4 separate regions of the Homo sapiens genome follow, and regions 2, 3 and 4 are each linked to region 1. Evidence: promoter capture Hi-C in human tissues and cell types (Jung and others, 2019). All regions are on one chromosome and are shown on one strand. Each heading gives the region's core, a stretch centred on a gene start or on the middle of the fragment in contact. The rest is flanking DNA. Distances are from core to core; before and after follow the strand shown.

Region 1 (5,097 bases), core at 2,586-5,085:
GGACAGGACCACATACTGGGGCCTCAGTTGGAGCTGGGAGCTCTTTTTTAACACTGGTCTCCTAAACCCTGCCCTTCCAATTCTTTCCACCCCTCTGAGAGCAAAGTTCAGCCACCAAGATTGTTAATCACAGAAACAATGACATTTTGGTATCTCAAAGGAGCAAACTTGAAGGTCATCTTTCAGTGCAAAGACCCTTAGACTTGAGAGCAGACAGGCAGAATGACCATGTCTTCTGTGTATAGTACACCATCACAGTGCACATGGAAATGACATGCTGGTGTATAGTTCCTATTTCTCCCTCATATTTCAGAGGCGGAAGCCCCTCCCAGAAGTTTCCTCTGAGTTCCCCAAAGCTGGATTCAGTGTTCCTATAGCCCTTCGATTCCCCTGATTGTGACATTTACCAGCCTGACTTGGATTCGTCTGTTTCTTTTCCAATATTTCTCACCTGACCTTCCTGAGGACAGAGAGTGGGGGTGAGTCCCTGCCGCATGGCCAGCACCTGGCAAGGTCATGGCAGGAAGGAGGTGTTCCCGATGTGTGTGTGGAATGAAGGAAGGCACAAACGGGTCCGTGTGAGGAAGGGACAGACCTGCCAGGGAAACTGAGGTATAGAGTTTGATGAGTACCCCCAAATCATCTGCTTAAAAGCAGGTATAAAATGTAAGGTCCTCTGGTGCCTAAAGCACACTCATCCTGTGTACACGTGACTATTAATAATATATAGCATTGATAATTCTGTGAATCTAGTCAGAGTACATGAACATTGTGTCTTCTGGTTGGTCTTAAAGTTATGTCCCTTCACCCTAGTCCAATTCCATCTATTAATATAAAGAGCTTGCAGATATAAGGAATAGCTTCACCAATATCACTCCTGAGATCCTGGGCGATGCTGCTCTTGTTGGGACTGATTCAGAAACCAGCCTTCTCTTCTAAACTACATTTCCAGTAGAACATGGTCCATACTTATATGGGAATGAAATCTCACTTAGTTTGAACTCTAGGTCATTCAGTCCCAGAGGTGGTGACTAATGGTCAGGAGATGACAGTATTGCTGGACAAGCATCACCACACTGAGGGGAAAGTTCACGTTTCTAATCCTGAGAAATAATCTGTTAAGAAGCATCACACAGAACCAGCTAGAGGGGAGTGTGAAAGCTGCTGCAGGAAGGGTTCATTCCGCCCAGTGCAACTGAGTGACTAAGAGTAGAGGGTGCTCACAATCAGAACACTGCTGGCACGTGTTTGTCTGGAGCCTGCAAGCTATTCCTCCTTTCTTGCTGAAGAAAAGTGGAGGAAGGGAGGAGCGGGGAGTAGAGTGGTAGGTTCAGCGTGGGATAAAATCAATGGTTTAGAAAATCCACCCATGAGTACGTAAACAATATGACCATAGCAGATACAGCAAATACAAAATTAAACAGCCTTTCATGAAGAAAAAACAATAAGGGCAATTCATGCCTGGCACACAGCAGGTGATGTCTGGATGTACAAATGCAGGTGAAGTGTGATTCAGACAGTGCAAAGGAGAGGTAAGCCAACAGTCACTTCCACTGGCTTCTGAATGAGGATCTGATCAAATCCACAGCATCTTATCATTCAAAATGTGCTTTTAAATTATGTTTTGCTTGGATCAGTATTGAAGCTATTTCAGTGTTATGGTACATCTAACAGCTGATTTTGGAAGGAGGTAAGCCAAAATGTTATTGATGGCATGAAAAGTGAGACAAATTTTAAAATTAGGCAGATTCAGTTTTTAAGTGATTTTCTTGTATACCCATACATCATCTGCACATTAAGCACTTTTCTCTAATTAAGCCAGGGAAAATACAGAGTAATGATAATATCTGTGAGGTCAGCTGTGATCAGAAGTGCCCACAGGCTGCATCTCTTAAAAACAGTCCATGGCACCTCAAGGGACACTGCAAAGACAGTGGCCGGGAATGTAATTGAGCTTTAGGAAATGATTAAAGGGAAGTAAAATCATCTCCAACTCAACATTAATGCGTTTGATTTCCCGGGTGAGAACAGGATTTGCGTAACTGAGTGGTTCTTTCTTTCTACAGTCCTGGATGTTTGGAAAGCCAGCTCTTACAGTTAGCTTTCTTTGCTTTGCTAACATTATCCATCAGAAAATCGAAATGCAAACAGCTCCTATTTCCCAATGAAGAACTTTCTCTGATTTACCTTACCATCATCAGGCTTCACCATCTCACCTTGGAAGCGTTCAATCTTTTGGTCAATATTTCTAGACCAAAATAAAGTGCTCTCAAGCCTGTTCTTTGGAAAGTATTTTGTCATCATTACCAAAGAGTGTTTAAATAACTGGCTATGAAGTTTGGGGAGACTGGGCTGGGAGGTACAATCTGAAGTTAATTGCTGATGTAATCATTAGTCCTTTCAATACCCAGTGGAGAAGCTGCCTCCAGGGAGATAAGCTCTCAATTAGGAGACGTGTGTGTATATCACCAGTTCTCTCTGGCATGTAACAGTTAACAATTTCTATACAGTTAAGTGGATTTAGTGAGTATCATTCTTCCAGGAGAGAAGTAAAATTTTTTTTTAAAGAGGAAAACAAAGAACAAGATTAAGAACAGTAAAAGAATAAGTATGGAAAATCTGGTAAGTAGCAAAAATCATTTTTAAGCATTTGAGGGAGAAACTGCAAAATCTGTTCAGAAGCCACACCTTCCGGCCTGTGGGACTGCATGGCTGTGACACTGAGCAACAGCTGAAGTCTTTATTCTCTCGGAGGGGAAGGAAAAAAGGAAACAACAGTCAGTCCAGGCTTGTCCACGGCTGGAAGCCTCGACTCCTGCAAACCTCCTGCAAACCGATCTCCCAGATCCTTTCTGGGCAAGCACATAACCAAAGGAAATGAAAACTAGAAAAACAATTTGTGCATGGAACAATGACATGGAGTTTCACTTTGGTTTCATGCTCAAATATGAATGTGGTTATAATTTTTTAAAATATATATTAATAGAAGGCAACGAGTTGAGGATGGTGGCTTCTTCAAGCCGGGCGTCCAGAAGAGCCCCACTTCTGCCTTGGAGCGCGCCTTAGGCAGCAGTCGTGGGAAAGCTCAGATACAGCTGTTTCCAGGCAAAGGGCCCAGAGCTTTTCAGCCTCAGCCACCAGGGTCTCCAGACAAGGAGAAATACGCCCAAAGCTGCTCCCAGGGGCTAGGAGCTCGGAGCTCCCAGTGTGGGTCTCTGAGCAGCGCGGGGTGGGCGCTCCCGGCCCTCCAGCCCCCAACTCCCTCGCGCACCCGGGACGGGTGAAGGCGCCCAGCTGCCGAGCATACCCGCGACGCGGGTTCAAATCCCGCCGGCTCCCAGGCACCCTCACCCCGCCACAGCGCGGGCTGTTTCTCCTCCCTTCCCCGGAGGAATTCCTTAACTCTCCAGTACCCATACCATAACAAAGGAGGCTCGGTCCACCAATGCGCGATCGTAGCCTACAGGGACCCCCAACGAACCCCGGCCCAGAGAATGCACCTGGCCGTGCCACGCGCGACCCCCGAGGGGCAGGCGGACGGGTCCAGGCGCGGACAAAGGGGCCTCTCGGGGCGCCCAAGCTCGGGGCGGGACGCCGGGAGCGGAGCTGGCCGGGAACTCACCTTCGCAGCGGCCCGGCTGTGCTCCTCGTGGAGCAGAAGGGCGGCGGGCAGCAGCAGCAGCCAGACGCTGAGCCGGGGCCCCATGGTGGCGCGCCCGAGGCGGCGAGGGACGGCTGCCCGGCGTGCGGGGGCCGCGGCGGACAGCTAGCTCTCGGAAGGCCGGACTTCCAGCGCTACGCACCGTCCCGGGTGCGGCGGCTCCAAGCGGAGACCTGAGCGCGGCGGGCCGAGCTCCCCAATTTGTTGGCGCTGCCCCCTCCCCCCCGGCGGTGCGCGGGCGGCGCCTCAAAGGGGAGGACCCTGCGGCGCGGGTAAGAGGCGGCGGGAGCGCGCGGCCCGGGAGTGTGGCTGCAGTGCGCCGGGACACCAGGGCTCCGCGCTCCGCACTCAAGAGGCTCCCGCGTCCCAACCCCTCGCGCCCGCGCGTTCGCGGATCCAGGCCGAGGACCGAAAGGGGCCGCCCGAGCCCCCGGGGCCGGCGCCCAGAGAGCCCAGCAAGGCCGGCCGCCCTGCCGGTGTGCCGCCGGCGGGTGCTTCTGGAAGGGCCAATGCGTTCGGGCAGCAGCCCCTGAAGCCGAGCCCGAGGTGAGAGCGACCCCCGAGCGGCGCCCAGACCCTGGCCCGAGAGCACCGACTTGGAGCGCCTTGTGCAGGCTAGGGCTGCACGCTCTCCTGCTTGGGAGTAGAAAGGGGGAGGGTGGGAGAGCGAAGACCGAGCTCCTCGGCCAAGGAGCACCCACAGGGGCCTAACGGGAGGCTCTCCTTCTTTCCGGGTCGTGGGGGGGACGGCCCTCCGGTCACCCCTGCATGCGGGCCGCGCACCGCGCTGTCCCCGCGTCTCGCGGACCGAGACCGGCGGTGAGGATGGGCTGCCTCCCTCATCCTGCGCTAAACTCGCTTTGTCTGTCGCCTCTAGGCTAAGTGGGACTGACCGGGGCCCAGAGTGGACGAACCGCCAGCATGGGGAGAGACCAGCGCGCGGTGGCCGGCCCTGCCCTACGGCGGTAAGCGACTTTCTGCCTGGTCCCCGTGGGTCACGCGCGCATGGACCCTTCGGTGTAACTCTCGGGGACTGACAAGCCGGGCCCGCACGTTCACGTCTCTCTTCCTCCCTTTCCCATGCAGGTGGCTGCTGCTGGGGACAGTGACCGTGGGGTTCCTCGCCCAGAGCGTCTTGGCGGTAAGTCCTGGCTCCCGCGCTTGGACTTGCGCGCCCGAGAGTGGTTGGGACGTTTGAGTGGCCTTGGAGAAGGCAGCTCGTCCGTGCGCTCCCGAGTGTGTGTGTGCGTGTGGATGTTCGCCAGGCTGCCCACCAAGGTTCTGAGAAAGCTTGCTCTTCCCTCATCATGCTTTCCACCTTTCCTTCCCCTTGGGTTCCCAGCGTCAATCCTGTGTTTTGCAAGCGTCGGCCTTTCACGGGAACTGGGAACTTAAAATGTAGCCTGAGGCACCGTTTTCGTTGCTTTGGGCAAAGC
Region 2 (2,725 bases), core at 1-2,500, 160 kb before region 1:
TGAAAATACTGATACTGTGATTCAACAGAGCTGTTTTTCAAGCCAGGATGCAGAATGAGGAATACTAATGAAATGACGGCCTTTAAGGTTGTTGCTTTTGAAGTCAAGTCATTCAGTTTGTGATTAGTGTTTAAAACCCTGAAAATATTTAATACAGAATAAAAACAATAAGCTCAAAGTACATGTTTCACTATAATAGACACCATATTCATGAACCTGGGTTTGGTTTTGGCAACACATAATTTTTGGTTTAGAAGTGAACAATGAAAACGGATGTTTCACATTCAATATCCTAGTCTTTAAAAACCTATGTTAAAGGACAGCACAGTCTTTCAAAGGAAGAAAACTATGTAAGCTTTATTTTAACAGTGGAAGTTAAACTAAACCTTGATCTGCCTAATTGCTGACATCTATATAAATTACTAATATATATATATATTTAATTTTTGACTATTTTTGGACCATCTTTATTCCACAGGAAAATTGTGATTTCTGCAAAAGCAGCTGCAAAGTACCACACATAGCAGAAAGACAGAAATTTATACTGGGGGGTTGGAAGATATGGCTACTGAGTCTGTAATTCCATTTGGAGGTTCAAAAAACCATTTTTACATTGCTATTATTTGTACAGACCAAGGGACCTAAATTTTGAAACAGCTAGACAGTGATATAAACAAACATTTATCTCTGGGGGTAGAAAATTAATTATAATACAAGAATGAAAATGGGCAAACAGTATGGAAGGCACCCACACCTCCTAGCACCCTTTGGTTTTCTGATGGAGTTCTCACTTCACACATCAGTGCATTGGATTGCAGAAAATATTGATATTTTATTTCATCAAAAGTGCCATTTGGTATGCCACTATTGAAAGCTTATCGCTGTCTTTTTCTCCTTCAGCAAGTAGAGGTCAATGAAGCAGGGTGTGTTAGTTACGCAAATTCCTATAAGGCACTTTACGGTTTTCATATTGGACAGTGAGGTACACAGGATATATTTCTAGGGTTCGTTGCTGTTAACAAAAAGAAGAAGAAGTAGCACCATGTTGTGACATTAGCTGAGTCAGGCTTCATTATGTTCTTCTCATACAGACTTGGCAGCGGCTGACGTGCGTGCGCAGCTCCCCTGCCTTCAAGGTGGACGGCGTAGGCTTCCTAAAACACGACACAGAGACAGACCATTGGCCATCATCTCACAGCACGTCAGAAACATGGCACTCCTGCCCTGCTCGGAAATCTCTAAGGGATCAGCCCAGCCCCTGGCATCAGGCCTCAACCTGGTACCACCCAGTGAGCAGGCAGGTGCTGGGTGCAGTGCACACACGGTCCCACGCACACAGAACACTGCAGGTTACCAGCTGCACACCCAGGCCCTGGCACCTGCCCCAGTGCCCACAGCCCCATAGGGCACAGCTGAAGTCCCGCCACATCAGTCTGGCTCCGAAGCCTTGGCCATTCCCCTCTGTGCCACCCTGCCTCCTCGTACTACAATTTCACTTTTTTTCCATTCTCCTCCACTAGATCATAAACTCCTCCAGGGTAAGAAGAAGATATTATTCTTCTCTGCAACACTTTACACACACAGTAAGTATTCATTAAATATTTGTGGAATGATGTGATGAGTAATAAATCTGGAGTAATTCCCTAGACCTCGAAATACTTTTATAACTTTTGAAGGATTTCTATGCAGATGGTCTGCTTTGAGACCAAAAAGAGGGAAAGACATTCAATGTCCCAAGTGTTTCTCAAGCTTAGAAACTCTACATTATTTTGATTGTTGAAAAGGTAAAATCTGAACTAAAATTGTTACTGAGAAAATTCTATTAAAATAAATAAATTAATTAAACTAAATTAAAATAGCCATTTATGAGAGTGCCTCATCCTAAAATTGAGGCTGCTTATTTTATTAACTTTTGGTGCAAATTCTAGTACCCTCAAGTTTATTATTTAAATTAATGGGATCTTACCTAATTTGCTTTGGGAAAACATTTTAGTTTATTGTATCAGGCTGCTGGTTAAAAAAAAAAAACCCATCATTACCTATCAACCTTATAAGAGGACACCGCAAGGGCTGAGGCATGAACAAAGTGCGCTCATTTTGGTAGTGAATGGTTAAACTCTATCTGCAGCATGGATGTCAAGTTTCCAGTTCCTTGAAAGGCTCCAATAAACCACCAGTTAGGCACGCGGCACTTTTTGGATGAGTAACGAATTAGAGAAGCGTGTATGTTGTTCTGCCTCTTACTATCTAAGCTGGAAAGAGACAGGATCATAGCAGGGTTCCATATAATTCTCTCCAAAAAGGTGAAGATGGAAAGGCTCATCTCCAGGGGTGAGAAGCGCTTGTTTTGGAAATGAACAGTAAGCAGCTGTGCCAGCTCCGTCAGCCTCCTGCATTGGCTCCAGCGGGGCTGCAGCTGGGGCTCGGGATAGAGGGTTCATTATGCGTTCCTGGCCTTCGGGGACCGGCCCGGCTCCCAGTCAACTCCAGCAAGGTTAGTAGCCACTTGGGCCAGTCATTTTAAAGGTGAGATTTTGGTAATGGAAAAGGAAGGAAGGGTCTTCCCTCTCAGTTTCAGCTGAATTTGTGCTGAAATTAATTTTTATTTGCACAGGTCTAAAAAAATACCTTGTGAAGTCACTCAGAACTTACACAAAGTGTACATTACGATCAGTGTTATGAATGGCATGAAAATGAACGCTGCTCACTTCTTCTCCCCGGGATT
Region 3 (4,612 bases), core at 1,694-4,193, 140 kb before region 1:
AAGTTGTTTTATTTCTTACGTAGATTTGTTTCTTAGCCTTATTTTAAAAGTGTCAAACCAAAATAACATGAACAAATATATATGTATATAAACATATATACAAACACATATTTATACATAAGTATGTATACAGAGACAGACAGACACTGACTGGCACCAGGAATGGGGTGTATTTCTTTTTCTTCCTCTTTTTTTTTTGAGACAGAGTCTCGCTCTGTCATCCAGGCTGGAGTGCAGTGGCACCATCTCGGCTCACTTCAATCTCTGCCTCCTAGGTTCAAGCAATTCTCCTGCTTCAGCCTTCCAAGTGGCTGGGATTACAGGCATGAGCCACCATGCTAACTTGTGCATTTTTAGTAGAGACAGGGTTTTGCCATGTTGGCCAGGCTGGTCTCGAACTCCCCACCTCAGGTGATCTGCCCACCTCGGCCTCCCAAAGTGCTAGGATTACAGGCGTGAGCTACCAGGCCCAGCCGGGAATGGGGTATATTTCTATGTTACTGAGGAATAAAAATGAGAATACATAAATATTTGACAAATTACCTAGGCTTACATTACTGGAAAACTGCAATATAGCAATAGGGGCCCAAAAATACATTCACATACACATTTGCTATACTGTGGAGATATACACAGCTTTGAGGACAAGGAATGGGTAAACATGACTGTTGCTACTCCTTATAGCCAGTTCTGCATAATTATTTATAAGCATTTCATAACTTACTGATTCAGAAGTAAATCAGCACCACGTATTGTTTTGCACCCAGCAAGCTTAGCTATTCTGTATCCATCCTTGAGAAAGTAGTCTGATGACTCTAAGATATGTCTCTGCTGCTGATGAGCAGTTCAAAGCTTTCCCTTTAAGGGAGAACATGTGTTGACTTACAGAAGAACCCCGCTTGCTCCAACATAACTGCAGAGGTCTGTCTCAAATCCCTCCTATTCATGATCTCCCCTGATATACTCTCTCTTTCTCCTAACGTGTGTTAGAGAGAGACAGAGAGACAGACAGATGGAGACAGATAGAGGAAACAGAGAGACAGACACAGAGAATAAAGCTCTGCTAATCCAGCTATTTGAATGAGCGAGCCACGTAAACACAATCCTTTAGCCATGGACATGGTTAAGCTAAAAATCAAACCAAAGATCCATGACCACCACTAAGAAGGGCTATATATTCAGGTGCAGCAAAGAGCCAAAGTCACACACACACACACAGAAATACACAAGGCTGCTGGTCACTTATTGCACCCTGAGATGTGCTCTTCTGAAGGCTTGTCTAAGTCACCACTTAGACTCTGTATCTGGATCAGGTCAGTAAAGAAAGATGGAATATTGCTGGTTATCTTTTATGACTTGAACTGTTCAACTGCAATTCCCTGTCCTCCTGCCAGTCCTAAGAGATGGCTGGGCTAGTTTTACAGAATTGTTCTCTGCAAAACAACATTGGCTTGCTTTTTACATTGAGTTTGTAAATAGGTCTTAAATTTAGGCATTGAGCCATAATTTCCAGCAGTATAACATTTCCCTTTTATGGTTCTTGGAAAACTGGATTGTAAAAAAATGTTACAATAGTTTCCTACTCTGATGCCAATAAAGATGTGGGTTACTGGCAAGAAAGAAAGAAAGAACTGATTTAGTGGGGATGTGGGAGTGTAACACACACACACACACACACACACACACATATATATACATACACAAAATACATACACACATAGACACATATGAATACTTCTGGCCAGAAAAGACTCCTTTAAAAATAAAAATCTACAAATCAATAACTCACAGGCATGCCCTGGAATCCAGGGTCTCCCTTGGGCCCTGGGACACCGGGTGCTCCTGGCCAGCCTGGATTTCCTTTGTCACCTTTAACTCCATCAATCCCAGGAAGCCCTGGAGGCCCCATGGGTCCCGGAAGTCCTAATGGAAGAGAAGAAAGCCACACATTTGGGGTTAAATATGCACAAGTGTCCCTGGGCTGTGGGGCTATCAATACTGCCACCCACGGCCCCTCACTGATACAACACTGGACCAACAGTGACAACCCTTGAGACAGAAATCGAGGCAGGTCCAGGAAGGAAGGAAGGAGGGAGGGAGGGAGGGAATAGAAACACTACTATCTCTGATAAAACACTGGACCGACAATGTGAACCCTTGAGACAGAAATTGAGGAAGGTCTGGGAAGGAAGGAAGGGAGGGAAGGAGGGAGGAAGGAGGGGAGGGAGGAGGGGAGGGGAGGGGAAGGAGGGAGGGAGAGAGGAAGGGAGGAAAGAAGGAAGGAAGGAAGGAAGGAAGGAAGGAAGGAAGGACAGACATAGAAATGCCACTGTCTCCGTGTCCAAAATGGCCTGCGGTCAGTGGTGCCCGGGCATCTGTGCTACCACTACGGGGGTCTTCACCAGAACCCACAAGTGGGCCCAAGTGCTGCGCTGGTTTAAGTCCAACGCCACCGACGGGGCACGAGTCCAGGCTTGTCCAATCATTTCCTTTCTTGCATCTCCCTAATTACTTAAATTCCTTGACAGAAAGGATACAAGAAAAGCTTTGACTCGATGGGGGCCAAACACAATTTCAAGCTGTAATAAATGCTGCAGACTTCTAAATAAAAAAGCCCAATTGAGAATTTAACTATTTCTTTTACGCTATTTCCTTTTGTGAATTCTGTCCCAGTCCTCAGCCCTGGCCCCTGGCGAGATGCCCTTACCTGGCAGGCCAGGCTGGCCCTGAGGTCCGCGGTCTCCTTTGGGCCCCTCCGTGGCATGGCCTGGGGATCCCGGTAACCCCGGCTGTCCCTGGGGCCCCGGAGGACCCATGAATCCTTGCTCTCCTTTGGATCCAGGAATTCCTGGGCTCCCGGCTAATCCTGGGAAACCCACCTCACCCTTTGAACCTGAACAAGAAAAACAGTTTGAGGTGATGGGAAACGCAGCAGCAGAACAGTAATCTCCAGCGTGGACGGCAGAGATGGGATGAGGCGTGCCTCATCCTGTAGGTACCGCTCAGAGGGAGCTTCCAGGGACACCACAGGAAACTGCAGCAAGGGCTCCGATCCCTCCTTCTCTTTAATAACACACTAGAATCCGACCATGGCCTGGCTGGAAAAAGAGCTCAGAATGCTAGGAACCCAGCTATCGTTTTCATACTTCTCACGAGACGTGTTCTATGGCAAAGGCATCTGAATTGTGTTTAAAGACATCTGCAGCAACTGCACTGCTAAACGAAAGCCTCACTCCATCAGCACATGAATGGGCTGGACAAGCCAATCATGTTATATCCATGCAGTGGGACACTACTCAGCCATAGAAAGAAGTGAGCAACCACTGGGCTGGATCTCAAACGAATTATGTCGTGGGAGAGTAGTCAGGCTGAAAAGACTACGAAGTGTATGGTTTTATTTTTGTAAACTGCTGGAAAATGCAAACTAACCTAGAGGACCAGAAGGCAGATGGACGGTTGCTTGGGGAATGGGGAGAGGGCAGGAGGGGGGGATTATGAAGCCACGGAGGAGACTTTTGGGGGAAGGCTTTGCCTGCTATCTAGAATGTGGGGATGTTTTCATGGTGTAGACCTATGTCAGCCTTATCAAATTGTCCACTTTAAATATTTGTAGTTTATGACCTGTCAGTGAAACTTCAATAGAGCAGGTTTAAAAAATTAAAAAGTAACAGCTTGTAGGAAAAAGAAATTCTATGTTTAGTTTTAAACATAGTATCCAAATCTTACCAATAAAAATGCCAAAATTCTAAGGTTATTTCCAAAACAAAGGAAAAGGGAATGAAATAGGGTCAAGACCTAAAGTGGTCATTTGGGATTCTCTTCTCCTGGGGATTCTCCCTGCTATTTCACACAGCAATGAGTGGAAAACGCAAGGTGCTGCGTAGAGTTTGTGCAAGGGCAGTGCAGCATGTCCAAAGGAGTGTGCGGGATCACATGGCAAGGTAGGAAAGGCAGGGCAGGAACAGCCCACAGCGACCCCTTGAGCAGGTGCATTTGCAAGGGGCTCTGTGTTTGAGGGATTCTGTGAGTTAAGGGAGAGGGAAGTGTCCATTCCCAAGGCAGCCCACCCGGCACCAGGCCATCCTTCTCAACCCAGGGGTTCCCAGTGTCAGACTACATGCCTGCCAAGGAAACACTCTGGGCTGGTCTCGGGGAGAACCAGGGGGTGGGAGAAACAACACCTCCGTGCCCCTGCTCCTTCTCAGCTGAAGTCCAAGGCCTTCCAGGGCTTTCTGAATCCTCCCACTGAGTGGGATCACTCAGCCAGCCCAGCCACGGGCCATAAGCATGCCCATGGATGCTGTGTGTGAGCTCCTGGCTGCGGCCACCTGTGGCTTCTCTTCAGTGTCGTGCAGCTCACATGCCTTGTATTTTCTGTGTCCCCTTTGCTTTCCCATGAAATGCTCAGCTCTCTGAGAGAAGAGACTGCCTTCCCAAGCTCCTGGCCAACTCTCAGCTGCACTTAGTACTGAGCACATCGTGGCTGCGCAGGGCATGTTTTTGTCTCGTGGTGTGTGCTACATACTGTCCTGCATTCACATAAGTATAACCAGTTCTAGAAAGTCAGAATTTCAATATTCTGATGACCTTCTAGGCATAAAAATGACAGGGG
Region 4 (4,484 bases), core at 931-3,430, 240 kb after region 1:
AGCTTCTCGGGAGGCTGAGGCAGGAGAATTGCTTGAAGCTGGGAGGTGGAGGTTGCAGTGAGCCGAGATCACACCACTGTACTCCAGCCTGGGCAAGAGAATGAAACTGTCTCAAAAACAAAAATAAAAACAAAAAAAAACTCTTGTCATTCTGGAAATGTCCACAATTCAGTCTCACCTGCCTCCATCCTCATGAAGGCACCAGGGGAGCGCGGTGGGCTCACCTGATTTCTTGGTTAGGTCTGTTCTGTTCCTTTTTTATGCGGGGTCTGTCGGTGGGCACTGCTCCAATGTGAGGGGTCCAGGCTCCATCGTAGCCTCTTAACCAGCTCAGTGCCAGGAAGGGTGGACTTTGACAAAAACCCACCTCAAATCTGCACTCCCCAACCTGGAGTGCAACCTGTGGCAAGCTCCCTAGGCTCTCTGGGCCTCAGCTTCCTCATCTGCACCGAGAGGTGAGGATAACACCAAGCACACAAAGTGGATGCCGGAACAATGGACAATGCCAGAAGGCACTGAGTGTGATGTCTGGCACCCAGAAGCATGATAAATGCCTGCTGCTCTCACAGCCCAGGGCTCCAGCCAGGTAAGGGCTGGGTCCCTACAGAACCCAGAGGCCTGAACATGTGTGTGATGATTCCAAACTTCCCAGGCCAGTTTTTCATAGGACACTACCCTGACTTCCTTGCAGAACCCTAGCAGTAGGTAGCTGAGCTATTTCAGAGGCTTAAGACCAGTGTGCGGAGAGCGGTTAGGCCAGAGGGAGGAAAGACATCCGTTGCCATCAACATCTTGTGAGTCCACAAAACAAATCAGCAAATATTTACAAAATGCTTTGCTTGGAGCTACAAGCTTAGCTTGGTCTGTGTTAGAATATAAGCTACTAAAAGTTAAGTGTGTTGATTTGTATCAGCTTGGGTTAAGCAGGAAGGAATATTTCAGACAAAAGCTGAATTCTTGAATGCAGATTCATTTTGCCTGTGCCCTTTGGCATTTCCGAATTTCTAGCTTCTTCAGCCCTGAATCTGGAATCCAGGGAACTCACCACTGTGTCTTTTCATCCACGGTTCCTAGCTCATGATTCTTACAGCCATTGTTACAATCTATTGTTATAATGTTGGGTGCCTTAGGCCTCAGGAACAAAATCTTTCTCTCTGACCTTCTCCTGTCCTCCTTTCACCTGGCCCAGGCCGGACTCTAATCTGATTGTGGGTCATTAGACCCTCCTTCCAGAGAGGGTCCTGCCCCATACCCTAGAGGAAGGAATGCTGCAGAGAGGCCTGGGGAATCTGAACAGACAGGCCTTGCTGGGCTTAGACTGCACCCTTTTTATCCAATCACACTTTTTTAAATTTTTTTTTTTTTTAATTGAGATGGAGTCTTGCTCTGTTGCCCGGGCTGGAGTGCAGTGGCACAATCTCAGCTCACTGCAACCTCTGCCGCCTCCTGGGTTCGAACGACCCTCTTGCCTTAGCTTCCTGAGTAGCTGGGACTACAGGCACGCGCCACCAAGCGCAGCTAATTTTTGTATTTTTAGTAGAGACAGAGTCTCGCCATGTTGGCCGGGCTGGTCTTGAACTTCTGCCCTCAAGTGATCTACCCTCCTCGGCCTCCCACACTGCTGGGATGACAGGCCTGAGCCACCACACCCGGCCTTTCCAATCACATTTTGACATGATGCCCATGCCTCAACCACAGACAACCAATGAAGTCTCCATAAGAAGCCCAGAAAACAGGGTTCAGGGAGCTCCCAGAAAGCCGAGCACATGGAGGCCAACAGGAAGGTGAAGAAGAACTCACCCCCATGCCACAAGGGCACCCCAACTCTGTGGCACCCCAACTCCATGGACCCCAACTCTGTGGCACCCCAATTCCGTGGCACCCCTTCCAGACCTTGCTCCATGTGTCTCTTCATGCGGTTGTTCATTTGTATCCTTTGCAATATCCTGTCTAATAACTAGTAAACAAACATAAGCAACCGTTTCCCAGCAAATTAATTGAACCCAAAGAGGGGGTCGTGGGAACCCCCACCTGAAGCCGGTGGATCAGAAATTCCAGATGCCTGGAATTGCAACTAGGGGGAAGGAAGGGGTGGTCTTGTGAGACTGAGCCCTCACCCTGTGGTATGAGACGCTACCTCCGGGTAGATAGTGGCAGAATTAAACTGGAGGACACCCAGCTGGTATCCACTGCTCGCTGTGTGGGAAAAACCCTACACCTTTGCTCACAGGAGTTTCCTGTGTCAATGATGGCTGTGGCGCTGTGAGAGCAGAGGAAAAACTCGGGTTTAGAGTTTTTTCCTGAAACACATTCCCGAGGTATCTAGTGGATCTGCCTTCTCCTTGCCACCTTCCAGAGTCTTATGTTTGCTTTTAAGATAAAATCCAAGGTTTTGGGCTGTAATTAGAGGGAAGAGTAGGGGAAAATACATCTTTTCCAACTTCCCAGAAACACAGTCCTGGTATGTTAGTCTTTTTAATAGATTTGCAATGATATTGAACTCAAAAGAAATCAAGAGCTACTAAAGAAGTTTTTTAGGATACCATATAATTAATGTCCCAGACCCACAGTTCCCTACCACGCACACAATGGCCTATTGTATCACAGCACTCAGGACAATGATATTTCCACACTAATTTTATCATTCAGGGTCAATACATCGCTAAGAAAATGAAACTGCTAATGTCAGTCTGTGAATTTTCCCCACTGCTTTCAAAAGTTTCCTTCAGCAAAAACTTAGTTTCAAAAATATCACAGAGCAAAACATTACATTCTATGGAAAACTCCAAGTGAGTAAAACCCAAGGAGTTTATAAATCCAAGGAAAGAAAAAGAGATCAGAAAAACAGACAACCAGCAGTATGTACTATGGGGTGCAAGGTCACTTTGTAGCAGTTTGGTGGAAGGAGGAATTCTTCCCTCTGCTACAAAGACCAAGAAATGCTTCACTGAAAGATGGGATAAAATTCAAGCTGGGCATGGCCAGAGACGCTGTAAGCACCTGTGAGAACCGAGCAAAGACAGGGCACACAGGACGAACTGCAAATCGTACATCAGGGCTCAAGTGCCAGCAGGCAGATAAGAGGAGTGATAAGCTGGGGAGTGCTGGAGGGGCTCTGAGCAGGGAAGGTGACCAGATCCAGGAGGCCTGGCAGAAAGACCCCTCAGTGAGGTGCAGAAGAGACAGCACCAGGGAAGCCAGGGTTGAAACGAAGCTGGAACCTGCCTGGGCCAGCGTTCGCGGCCAGCTGGACCATGGAACTCTGTCGTCGCAGTGATGAATCCATTATCCTAAGAATCAACAGCTGTTTAGGCGTGTGTGTTTGTACGTGTGTGTATGTTTGTACAAAATTTATTTTTCTTGGAGAGGGATGTTATATGAAGTCTCAATACAGAAAGAAGGGCAATTTGATCTGGCATCATAAATTTTCAGCCAGGCATGGTAGCTCATGCCTGTAATCTCGGCACTTGAAGAGAACAAGCAGGGACGATATCTTGAGCCCAGGAGTTCAAGACCAGCCTGGGCAACATACTGAGACCCCTGTCTCTACAAAAAAAAAAAAAAAATACAAAAATTAGCTGGGTGTGGTGGTGCTGTAGTCCCAGCTGAGAGGTGGGAGGACTGCTTGAGCCCACGAGGTCAAAGCTGCAGTGAGCCAAGATCACAGCATTGCATTCTAGTCTGGGTGACAGAAGACGACCCTGTCTCAAAAAATAAATAAATAAATAAGACGGGCGCGGTAGCTCACGCCTGTAATCCCAACACTTTGGGAGGCCACGGTGGGTGGATTGCTTGAGGTCAGGAGTTCAAGACTCGCCTGACCAACATGGTGAAACCCTGTCTCTACTAAAAATACAAAAATTAGCCGGGCATGGTGGTGGGCACCCATAATCCCAGCTACTCGGGAAGCTGAGGCAGGAGAATCACTTGAACCCAGGAGGCAGAGGTTGCAGTGAGCCGAGATCGTGCCAGTGCACTCCAGCCTGGGCAACAGAGTGAGACTCTGTCTCAAAAAAAAAAAAAAATTAAAAATAAATAAATAGGGCCAGGCGCAGTGGCTCACGCCTGTAATCCCAGCACTTTGGGAGGCTGAGGCGGGTGGATCACAAGGTCAGGAGATCGAGACCATCCTGGCTAATATAGTGAAACCCCGTCTCTACTAAAAATACAAAAAATTAGCTGGGCGCGGTGGCGGGCGCCTGTAGTCCCAGCTACTCAGGAGGCTGAGGCAGGAGAATGGCGTGAACCCAGGAGGCGGAGCTTGCAGTGAGCCAAGACCATGCCACTGCACTCCAGCCTGGGGGACAGAGTGAGACTCCATCTCAAATAAATAAATAAATAAATAAATAAATAAATAAATAAATAAAAATTTCTATTTCTCCAGAGAGCTTAAAGATAACAAAGCATGAAATTGTCTCCCAAAGGCATTCAGTGTGACTCAGGTGCTCGTTAACAAACACAGTTGACCTTAATTAAGTTTCTCC

What was found. The method cuts DNA at HindIII sites, captures the fragments that hold promoters and counts their contacts. A contact is called where the count stands out against the background at its distance.
Region 2: a fragment that was not itself captured here is called in contact with the fragment with the promoter of COL4A1 in region 1 in 2 of the 25 tissues and cell types used here (lymphoblastoid cells and spleen).
Region 3: a contact is called between a fragment that was not itself captured here and the fragment with the promoter of COL4A1 in region 1, in 2 of the 25 tissues and cell types used here (aorta and mesendoderm cells).
Region 4: a contact is called between a fragment that was not itself captured here and the fragment with the promoter of COL4A1 in region 1, in 1 of the 25 tissues and cell types used here (mesendoderm cells).

Annotation. Positions count from the first base shown.
Region 1 is chr13:110,303,322-110,308,418 of GRCh38, forward strand. It overlaps COL4A1 (collagen type IV alpha 1 chain), which reads right to left and starts at 3,836. Exons shown (of 52, transcript NM_001845.6): 1 at 3,623-3,836. The coding sequence starts at 3,706. It overlaps COL4A2 (collagen type IV alpha 2 chain), which reads left to right and starts at 3,963. Exons shown (of 48, transcript NM_001846.4): 1 at 3,963-4,207; 2 at 4,539-4,626; 3 at 4,748-4,802. The coding sequence starts at 4,583. RefSeq lists enhancers at 3,592-4,425, 4,426-5,097. The HindIII fragment of the contact is 6,060 bases long and covers 1,321-5,097 here.
Region 2 is chr13:110,149,291-110,152,015 of GRCh38, forward strand. It overlaps COL4A1 (collagen type IV alpha 1 chain), which reads right to left. Exons shown (of 52, transcript NM_001845.6): 52 at 1-1,154. The coding sequence ends at 1,073. Among named protein-coding and RNA genes, the nearest start is that of LINC03082, 22 kb to the left of the region's middle. The HindIII fragment of the contact is 3,547 bases long and covers 1-2,725 here.
Region 3 is chr13:110,167,840-110,172,451 of GRCh38, forward strand. COL4A1 (collagen type IV alpha 1 chain) reads right to left here. Exons shown (of 52, transcript NM_001845.6): 42 at 2,708-2,893; 43 at 1,790-1,923. Among named protein-coding and RNA genes, the nearest start is that of LINC03082, 41 kb to the left of the region's middle. The HindIII fragment of the contact is 7,651 bases long and covers 1-4,612 here.
Region 4 is chr13:110,548,369-110,552,852 of GRCh38, forward strand. The region is part of intron 1 of RAB20 (RAB20, member RAS oncogene family); the gene reads right to left. Among named protein-coding and RNA genes, the nearest start is that of RAB20, 11 kb to the right of the region's middle. The HindIII fragment of the contact is 4,571 bases long and covers 1-4,466 here.